Regions from separate parts of the Homo sapiens genome. Here all the other regions are linked to region 2. The links are contacts of gene promoters, found by promoter capture Hi-C in blood cells and fetal thymus (Javierre and others, 2016). All regions are on one chromosome and are shown on one strand. Each heading gives the region's core, a stretch centred on a gene start or on the middle of the fragment in contact. The rest is flanking DNA. Distances are from core to core; before and after follow the strand shown. Region 1 has its middle 4.5 kb from the start of EPB42. Region 2 holds the start of TGM5 (transglutaminase 5). Region 3 overlaps EPB42 (erythrocyte membrane protein band 4.2).

What was found. The method cuts DNA at HindIII sites, captures the fragments that hold promoters and counts their contacts. A CHiCAGO score of 5 or more calls a contact.
Region 1: a fragment that was not itself captured here is called in contact with the fragment with the promoter of TGM5 in region 2 in 1 of 17 cell types (megakaryocytes); the score reaches 19.2 in megakaryocytes.
Region 3: a fragment that was not itself captured here is called in contact with the fragment with the promoter of TGM5 in region 2 in 2 of 17 cell types (megakaryocytes and erythroblasts); the score reaches 8.9 in megakaryocytes.

The regions. Positions count from the first base shown.
Region 1 is chr15:43,223,997-43,227,032 of GRCh38, reverse strand. It overlaps a transcript of EPB42 not described here. Among named protein-coding and RNA genes, the nearest start is that of EPB42, 4.5 kb to the right of the region's middle. The HindIII fragment of the contact is 1,435 bases long and covers 835-2,269 here.
Region 2 is chr15:43,265,623-43,268,722 of GRCh38, reverse strand. It overlaps TGM5 (transglutaminase 5), which reads left to right and starts at 1,795. Exons shown (of 13, transcript NM_201631.4): 1 at 1,795-1,883. The coding sequence starts at 1,874. It also overlaps the pseudogene ATP5PDP1. The HindIII fragment of the contact is 1,714 bases long and covers 751-2,464 here.
Region 3 is chr15:43,204,646-43,207,406 of GRCh38, reverse strand. EPB42 (erythrocyte membrane protein band 4.2) reads left to right here. Exons shown (of 13, transcript NM_001114134.2): 9 at 1-208; 10 at 778-1,077. Among named protein-coding and RNA genes, the nearest start is that of EPB42, 15 kb to the left of the region's middle. The HindIII fragment of the contact is 3,657 bases long and covers 1-2,761 here.

The DNA.
Region 1 (3,036 bases), core at 303-2,802, 41 kb after region 2:
GCGCTTGAGGAGCCCTTCAGCTCGCCGCTGCACTGTGGGAGCCTTTCTCTGGGCTGGTCCAGGCCGGAGCCGGCTCCCTCAGCTTGCGGGGAGGTGTGGAGGGAGAGGCACGGGCGGGAACCGGGGCTGCGCGCGGCGCTTGCGGGCCAGCTAGAGTTCCCGGTGGGCGTGGGTTTGGCGGGCCCGTACTCGGAGCGGCTGGCCAGCCCTGCCGGCCCGGGCAGTGAGGGGCTTAGCACCCGGGCCAGCAGCTGCGGAGCGTGCGCCGGGTCCCTCAGCACTGCCGGCCTACCGGTGCTGCTCTCGATTCCTCCCGGGCCTTAGCTGCCTCCCCGCAGGGCAGGGCTCGGGACCTGCAGCCCGCCATGCCTGAGCCTCCCCAAGGAGCGCCGCCCTCTGCTCCACGGCGCCCGGTCCCATCGACCGCCAAAGGGCTGAGGAAAGCGGGCCCACAGCGCAGGACAGGCAGGCAGCTCCACCTGCGGCCCCAGTGCGGGATCCACTGGGTGAAGCCAGCTGCGCTCCTGAGTCTGGTGGGGACTTGGAGAACCTTTATGTCTAGCTCATGGTTTGTAAATACACCAATCAACACTCTGTATCTAGCTAATCTAGTGGGTACCTGGAGAACTTTTGTGTCCAGCTCAGGGATTGTAAACGCACCAATCAGCACCCTGTCAAAACGGACCAATCAGCTCTCTGTAAAACAGACCAATCGGCTCTCTGTAAAATGGACAAATCAGCAGGATGTGGGTGGGGCCAGATAAGAGAATAAAAGCAGGCTGCCCTAGACAGCAGTGGCAACCCCTTCGGGTCTGCTTCTGTGTTGTGGAAGCTTTGTTCTTTACCTCTTTGCAGTAACTCTTGCTTCTGCTCACTGTTTGGGTCCACACTGCCTTTATGAGCTGTAACACTCACCGCGAAGGTGTACAGCTTCACTGCTGAAGCCCCCGAAACCACGAACCCACCAGGAAGAACGAATAACTCCAGACGCGCCCCCTTAAGAGCTGTAACACTCACCGCGAAGGTCTGCAGCTTCACTCCTGAGCCAGCGAGACCACGAACCCACCAGAAGGAACAAACTCCGAACACATCAGAACATGAGAAGGAACAAACTCCGGACACGCGGCCTTTAAGAACTGTAACACTCACTGCGAGGGTCGGCGGCTTCATTCTTGAAGTCAGTGAGACCAAGTACCCACCAATTCCGGACACACTATTAGCTAGCTAACTCCTATTTATCCTCCCTTAAATATCACCTTCTGAGAGAAGCCTACCCTGACCGTCCACACCTGGGTCCAAGAGCACTCAAACTTCTTTTTTACAGCATTTGGCACACTTGACAGAGAAATAGCTAATGGTGTACGCACTTAGTATTGTTTGTCTCCCCCTGCTGGAATAGAAGCTCCTTGGTGGCAGAGACGCGTCTATAGAGCTTTACTGCTGTACCACCAGTATCTAACGCGGTTCCTAACAGTTCCTAACGGTACCTCAGAAAGTGCCCCGACTGAAATACTGCCAGAGACTGGATCTCTGTGAAGCTCTCATGGGAACTGTACCGGGAAAGAGAAGATTCTCTTTGCTAGAACCAGAAGGAGAACACATTCCCCAAAGGGAGACCAGCCCACAACCTCCCCATTGCTCTCCTAGGTAAGGGGCCCTCTGTGGTGAAAATAGTTCTTTCAGCCAGACTTTTCTTTCCCCTAAAAGTTTTTGTTACTTTAAAAATATTAACACATAAATACAAGTTCATGGCACAAAGATACAAAGGGTATATAGAAAAAAGCCTTGTGCCTAGGCACTGATGTCTCTATCTAGAAGCAATAATTTTCTAGAAATAGTCTATATAAACACAAGCAAATTCATATATATTCTCCCCACGCACACATACCCTTTACACAAAGATAGTATACTATTCACATTGTTCTCTACCTTGCTTATTCCACTTAACAATACAGCTTGGACTGGGCGCGGTGGCTCATGCCTGTGATCCCAACACTTTGGGAGGCCAAGGCTGGGGGATCACTTGAGCACCGGAGTTCAAGACCAGCCTGGGAAACATAGTGGGACCCCATCTCTACAAAAAATAAAAATTAGCCAGATGTAGTGGCACATGCCTGTAGTCCCAGCTACTCTGGAGGCTGAAGTGGGAGGATCACTTGAGCCCAGGGGTTGAGGCTGCAGTGAGCCATGATTGCACCACTGCACTCCAGCCTGGGTGACAGAGCAAGACCCTGTCTCAAAACAAATAAACAAACATACAAATCAAGCTTGGAGATTGTTCCACATCCTTTTATATAGAGCTACTTCATTCTTTTTCACCTTTATGTATTTTATTGAATGCATGTTCCATAATTTATCTACCTAATACCTTATGCATGGATGTTTAGGTAGTTTCTAGTATTTGGCTATTATAAATATCAATGCCTTGAATATACTTGTATAAATTTCATTTTACACCTGTTTGATCATTTGTATGATAAATACCTAGAAGTAGAATGGCTGAATCAAAAGTATAGACTTTTTTTTTTTTAAGTGAGAGCAAGTTTATTAAGAAAGTAAAGGAATAAAGAATGGCTAATCCATAGGCAGAGCAGCAAAAAGTATAGACATTTAAAGTTTTGGTAGAAACCACTTAATTTCCCTTTGTTCTGGACTGAATTGTGTCCTCCCCAAAAATTCATATGTTGAAGCCCTAACCCCCAATGTGACTGTATTTGGAGATGGGACCTATAAGAAGGTAATAAAGGTGAAGTGGGGTCATAAGAATGGGCTTCAATCCAATAGGAATGATGTCCTTATAAGAAGACGAAAAGGAAAAGACACCAGAGATCTTTCTCTTTCCGCGTGGACACAGGGAAGAGGGCATGTGAGGAAGAGAGCCTTCACCAGACACCAAGCCTAAAGGCCCTGATCTTGAACTTCCATCCTACAGAAGGGTGAAAACATAAATATCTGTTGTTTAAGCCACCCAGTCTGACTAACACTCTCCGTAGAGGCTGCACAAATTTGGAGAGGCTGCACCAATTATTTATTAAT
Region 2 (3,100 bases), core at 546-3,045:
CCGCAGGGCTGCAGGAGGCCTTGCAGGGTAAGAGCAGGAAAGGCGCCCAGAGCCCAGCCCTCAGAGCTGGGAGGTGAGCGTGGCGTCGAGGCAGCCGTGGGACAGAAGGCAGTCTGCAGCAGGTGAGGGGTGGTGGGAGGCAAAGCAGTGGGCAAGGAGCTTGGCTGAGAAGTGGAGTTGAGAGAAAGGGCAGGGGCTGCTAGGGAAGCTGGGGATGAGAGTTGAAGGTGGATGTGCTGTGTTAAAATAGTGAACTGCATTTGTGCACATATACCCTATAAGAGGTGAGTGGGGTGTGGGCCATGGGCTGCCATGGTCAGTGAAGTATACCAAGATGGCTGGGTGAAAACTTGCTCTAAAAACCATTGACTGGGTAGCTTTTGCAGAGATGATACCCCAAAACCAAAAGGCCATTGCTAATTATCTGAAATCCTGGAATGAGACCCTCACCTCCAGGCTGGCTACTTTACCTGAGAATCCACCAGCTATTGACTGGACTTACTACAAGGCCAATGTGGCCAAGGCAGGCTTGGTGGATGACTTTGAGAAGAAGTTTAATGTCCTGAAGCTTCCTGTACCAGAGGATAAATATACTGCCCAGGTGGATGCTGAAGAAAAAGAAGATGGGAAAACTTGTGCTGAGTGGGTGTCTCTCTCAAAGGCCAGGTTGGAGAATATGAGAAACAGCTGGAGAAGATGAGGAACTTAATACCATTTGATCAGATGACCATTGACGACTTGAACGAAGCTTTCCCGGAAACCAAATTAGACAAGAAAAAGTATCGCTATTGGTCTCACCAACCAATCAAGAATTTATAAAATTAAGTCCAGGAAGAAGCCCTGGCCCTTATAGTACACATTCTGGACATTAAAAATAAAAATAATTACATAGGTTTTAAAAAAGAGCTGAGTGGGGACAGAGAGAATTGAAAATACAGGAGGGAGGACAATGCTGGTGAAAGAGGTTCCCCAGGGAGAAGGACCCAGAAAGCAGGGGATGTGGGGAGAAGTGCCCCAGAGCACAGAAAGACAGGGTAGGCATGGGGGTCCCACCCACTCCACAGGCAGAGCCCTTCCCCCTCCTGCCCTCTCTCTCCTTCCACCTGCGCTTTTCTCCCTATGAAAGGGCTTGTGCCTTTCTTACTAGGATCAAGGCCCTTGCTCACCGGCATTCCCACCCTCTCACCTATTTCCACACCTCCTCCACAAATCTTCCCAATTTTTCTTCCTCTATTTTATTTGTGATTATTTGCTTTTATTTGTGATTTGTCTTGGACCTGCCAGGTCTCATGCAAGACAATGCCACTGCCAAAGCTAAATACAGTGAAATCATACCGAAGGAGATCCAGACAGAGAGGGTTCTGTTTGCATTTAATGTTCAGGAAGTGACTTTTCAGGATAAAAGAGAGGCCTTGGTTACCTAGCAGGGTTCTCGGCTCAATGAGGTGCTTTAAGCTGTGAGCAGAGTCTTGGGACCCTGATGCTCCTTCCAGCAGCCCCCTGCATCCCTCTGGCGGGCCCATCAGCTCGCTTCTCCCTCCTGACTTCTCCACCACAGCACAGCACCTCCCTGGGAATGCCCTATTGCTCAAGAGCTATCAAAGGCCCACACGGCATAAGGCTGTGACAGTTCATCAGCCTCCACACCTCCTTTCAATTCAGCAACACTGCCAAGAAAAACCTGAGGGCAAGTGAGCAAACCAGTTGTGATCTGCTCGGTAATCAGGTGGCAGTGCAGCAGTCCAGCCCCGCCTTCGGTTCTCCTGGAGGCTTCCAATGGAAGGGGAAGTAGACACTCTGGCACCAGTTTGCTGAAGCTCCAGACCGCCCAGCTGTTCTGTGGGGAGCATCCCAGGAACCGGAGGCAGCTACCATGGCCCAAGGTAGGGAAAGCCCCTGTGGCCACTGGAGTTCAGGGATAAGAAGGACAGAGAGAGACTGTAGGAAGTCAAGGGGTGGAGGGTGGATTCAGAGAAATAAAGAAGTAAATACAGAACTGAGGCAGGAAAAGCAAGAATCCCAGAAACCTCAGTATTCATTGGTGGCTTGAGAACCAGGAGACAGCGTAGAGGCAGACAGGTAAACACAGCACACAGCTGCTTGCTAACATGCCTGCCTCCATAGCCAGGTGGGACAGGGCAGGGCCAGAGATGAGGGGGTCAGGGTTTCTGTCCTTCTCTGCTACTAGCTGACCCTTTGACATTGGACAAGTCACTTCGCCTCTAGTTTCCAACCCCCTTGCCTGAAAAAGGAGGGATTGGACCAGACAATCTTGAAATTGTCTTCCAGCTCTTAAGTTCTCTGAATCTTCATATCTTCTCTTCTTCCTCCATTTCAGAAGGTCTATTACTGATCTTAGCTAATCTTCCCATCACCAACCTTCTCTCTATATCATCCCCCTCACTCTGGAAAGAGTTGCTGTGAAGATTAAATCGTTAGTTGAAATCATTTAGAGGAATAAGCTTTCAACTTCCTCTACAACTGTAACAACCTTACCTTTATTTATTACTTTTTGTGTTTAAATTTTTGTTTTAAAATTTTCATAACTTTTAATTGCACAAGAAATATGGGAATACATAGTTGGAGTAAAATAAATAAATAATTATAGATAAAGCTATAGTCCTCTGCCCGCCATCCCCAATGGCAGCCTCATCTCCAGAGTAAACACTGTTACCTGTCTTTTGTCTGCACATTTACACTCAGACATACATTTACTCAATGTAATACATAGGATTAGCATGTGTGGTCTTTTTTGGTATATCCATGGTATCATCATATTGTATGTATATTTCTACAACTTGATTTTTTTCACTCCACAGTATGTCTGGGAGCTCTGTCCATGCCAGTCAGTACCTATAGATCTACCTCAATATTTCTCATAGTATCAGTGCAAGTAATTTCTAATCCTGTCCCCTATTGATGGGCATTTAGGTTGTTTTCAATTTTCCGGTTACACAAGCAATATTGCAAGGAACATACTTATCCATGCCTCTGTGTGCTCACGTGGGAGTGTCTCTCTAGGATAACTACTAAGATCACTTACTTTAAAAGTTCTTTCTACAGTCTTCTGTTTATTTCCTGATCATCTCACCCCATTCTC
Region 3 (2,761 bases), core at 140-2,639, 61 kb after region 2:
GTCAAGGAGGGGACGCTGGGGCTGACCCCAGCAGTGTCAGACCTTTTTGCTGCCATAAATGCCTCATGTGTGGTCTGGAAGTGCTGTGAGGATGGGACACTGGAGTTGACTGACTCCAACACAAAGTATGTTGGCAACAACATCAGCACCAAGGGTGTGGGCAGTGACCGCTGCGAGGACATCACTCAGAACTACAAGTATCCTGAAGGTACGGGCCAGGGAAGGGCCCCAGGCTTCTCGGTACCTGAAACGGCAAGCGAGGGAAAGGGATGGGCCTGGTAGATGCAGCCAGAAAGAGACTTGTCCTTTCCGCATCATATAAAACAGGGTTTCTCAACCCCATTTGACACCATTGACATTTGGGCCCAGATATGTCTTTGTTGTACAGGCTGTGCACCCTAGGACATTTAGCAGCATTCCTGACCCTCAGAGGAAGTCTAAATTCTTTCACATAGGAAAATTCAGTTCCCTGCAAAACTGTCCTCAGAGACAGTGTTGACTTGTCCCCAACCTTGCTCTCTCATCATTCAAGGGGAGAATTCATAGCACTTGAAAAAGAACTTGGTCCTTGAGTGGTTTGGAAGAGACACACTGTATCGGTGGTGGAGCTGCCTGACACAGACATTTTTGGGCTAAATATGGCCTTAGAGGCTTGCTGAGTTCTTGTGACTTTGGCATTTGAGCAGAAGTGGGTAAATGGTTTTGATTCCCAGGGTTTTATTAGAAGCATTTATACCACCCGGGTAAAAGGTCAGCTTTGTTTCTTCCCTTCTCCAGGGTCTCTTCAGGAAAAAGAGGTGCTGGAGAGAGTCGAGAAAGAGAAAATGGAACGTGAGAAAGACAACGGCATCCGTCCTCCCAGTCTCGAGACTGCCAGTCCTCTGTACCTGCTCTTGAAAGCACCCAGCTCCCTACCCCTGAGAGGGGATGCCCAGATCTCAGTGACGCTGGTTAATCACAGTGAGCAGGAGAAGGCAGTGCAGCTGGCAATTGGGGTCCAGGCTGTACACTACAACGGTGTCCTTGCTGCCAAGCTCTGGAGGAAGAAGCTGCACCTCACGCTCAGTGCCAACCTGGGTAATGCTCTATGGCCCCACCAGACACCCCCCGACACACACACACACATGGCCCCTGCCTTGGGCAGGCAGCAGCCACAGGGCACCCCCTGCAGTCTCTAGAGATGGCTTTGAGCCCCTGCTGCTCACTCTCATGTTCTCTCTCATTCATTCATTCAACACATATTTATTGGGCCTGAAGCAGGAAAAAAACACGATGCCAACTGCAGTCAGATAAGTAAACAGACCCTTCGTAGCAGTGTGAGAAGTGTTTGCTGAGTTTAACAGAGTACAGTGGCAGGAGAGCACCTCCCCCCAGGCTGGAATAAGCTGCCCCCAAATAAATTGTACTGCATGGAATCTGGAAGGATGAGTAGGAGAGTAATGGCCAGAAAAGTAAGTCTTGGCATTCCAGACGGAAGGAGCAACGTGTGCAAAGGGCCCTGCTCATCCCTGAGGTTCTTTCTTAATTGGTCTGAGATGGGGTCCAGGTATTGTTTTTTTCTTTTTTTAACACCCTGTGTTATTCTACAGTTAAGATTCCCTGAACCAGAACAATTGTTTTTAAATTTTGCTGCACATTAGAATCACCTGGGGGAAGTTTGATGCTCAGCCTGCATCTCAGGCCAATTAAATGACAGATTCTATGGTGGGCTGGACGCAGTGGCTCATGCCTGTAATCCCAGCACTTTGGGAGGCCAAAGTGGACAGATCACCTGAGGTCAGGAGTTCAAGATCAGCCTGGGCAACATGGTGAAACCCCGACTCTACTAAAAATACAAAAATTAGCCAGGCTTGGTGGCACACAACTGTAATCCCAGCTACTGGGGAGACTGAGGCAGGAGAATCGCTTGAACCCAGGAGGCAGAGGTTGCAGTGAGCCAAGATCATGCCACTGCACTCCAGCCTGGGTGACACAGTGACACTCCGTCTCAAAAAGAAAAAAAACAAAAACTCCATGGTGGAACACATCAGAATTTTTAAAAACTGAAGTAATTCCGATGTGCAGACAAGTGTGAGAATCAGTTGACGAGAGCTTGTCTACAGCATTGCAACAGCCTTCTAACCGGTCACCTCACCTCCAGTCTCTGTATCACTCTTCCCTTTCCAAGCATGGGAGGAGTGGAGTTGGGAGAGTGGCGTGAGAACTGGACAGGGCCCAGGTGACACAGGGTCTTGTCTCTCTTGCTAAGGAGTTTGAGTTTTGTTCTCTGGGTAATGGAAAACTGGTGGAAGGTTTCAACCAGGGTAGTCAATGGAATCAGAAATTCATTTTAACAAGAAAGAACTTTTGGCAGAATGGAATGGAAGGGGTCATATAAGAAGAGTGCTTCTTAACCTTAGCTGCACATTGAGTCATCTTGGGAACTTTTTTTTGGGGGGGGGGCGGAGGGGGCAGCCTTCTGAGCCAGAGTAGGTTCAGAGACTCCGATCATCTGGGGAACTTTTAAAAATACTGATGTCTGGGCTTCATCGCCAGAGTCTGATGTAACTGATTTGGGGTGTGGCCTGGCATTGGGATTGTTTTGTAAAGCTCCCCACTTGATTCTAACATGCATCCAGTCTTGAGAACCACTGGATTGAAGATGAGAAGGTTGTGTAAATCATCAAGTCAAGAAATCAAGGCCAAACTAAGCTAGCAGCACTTAGAGTTAAAACATATTAAGGAGTTGAGATAGATGGGGCTTGTGAATGTGTGAATGTGT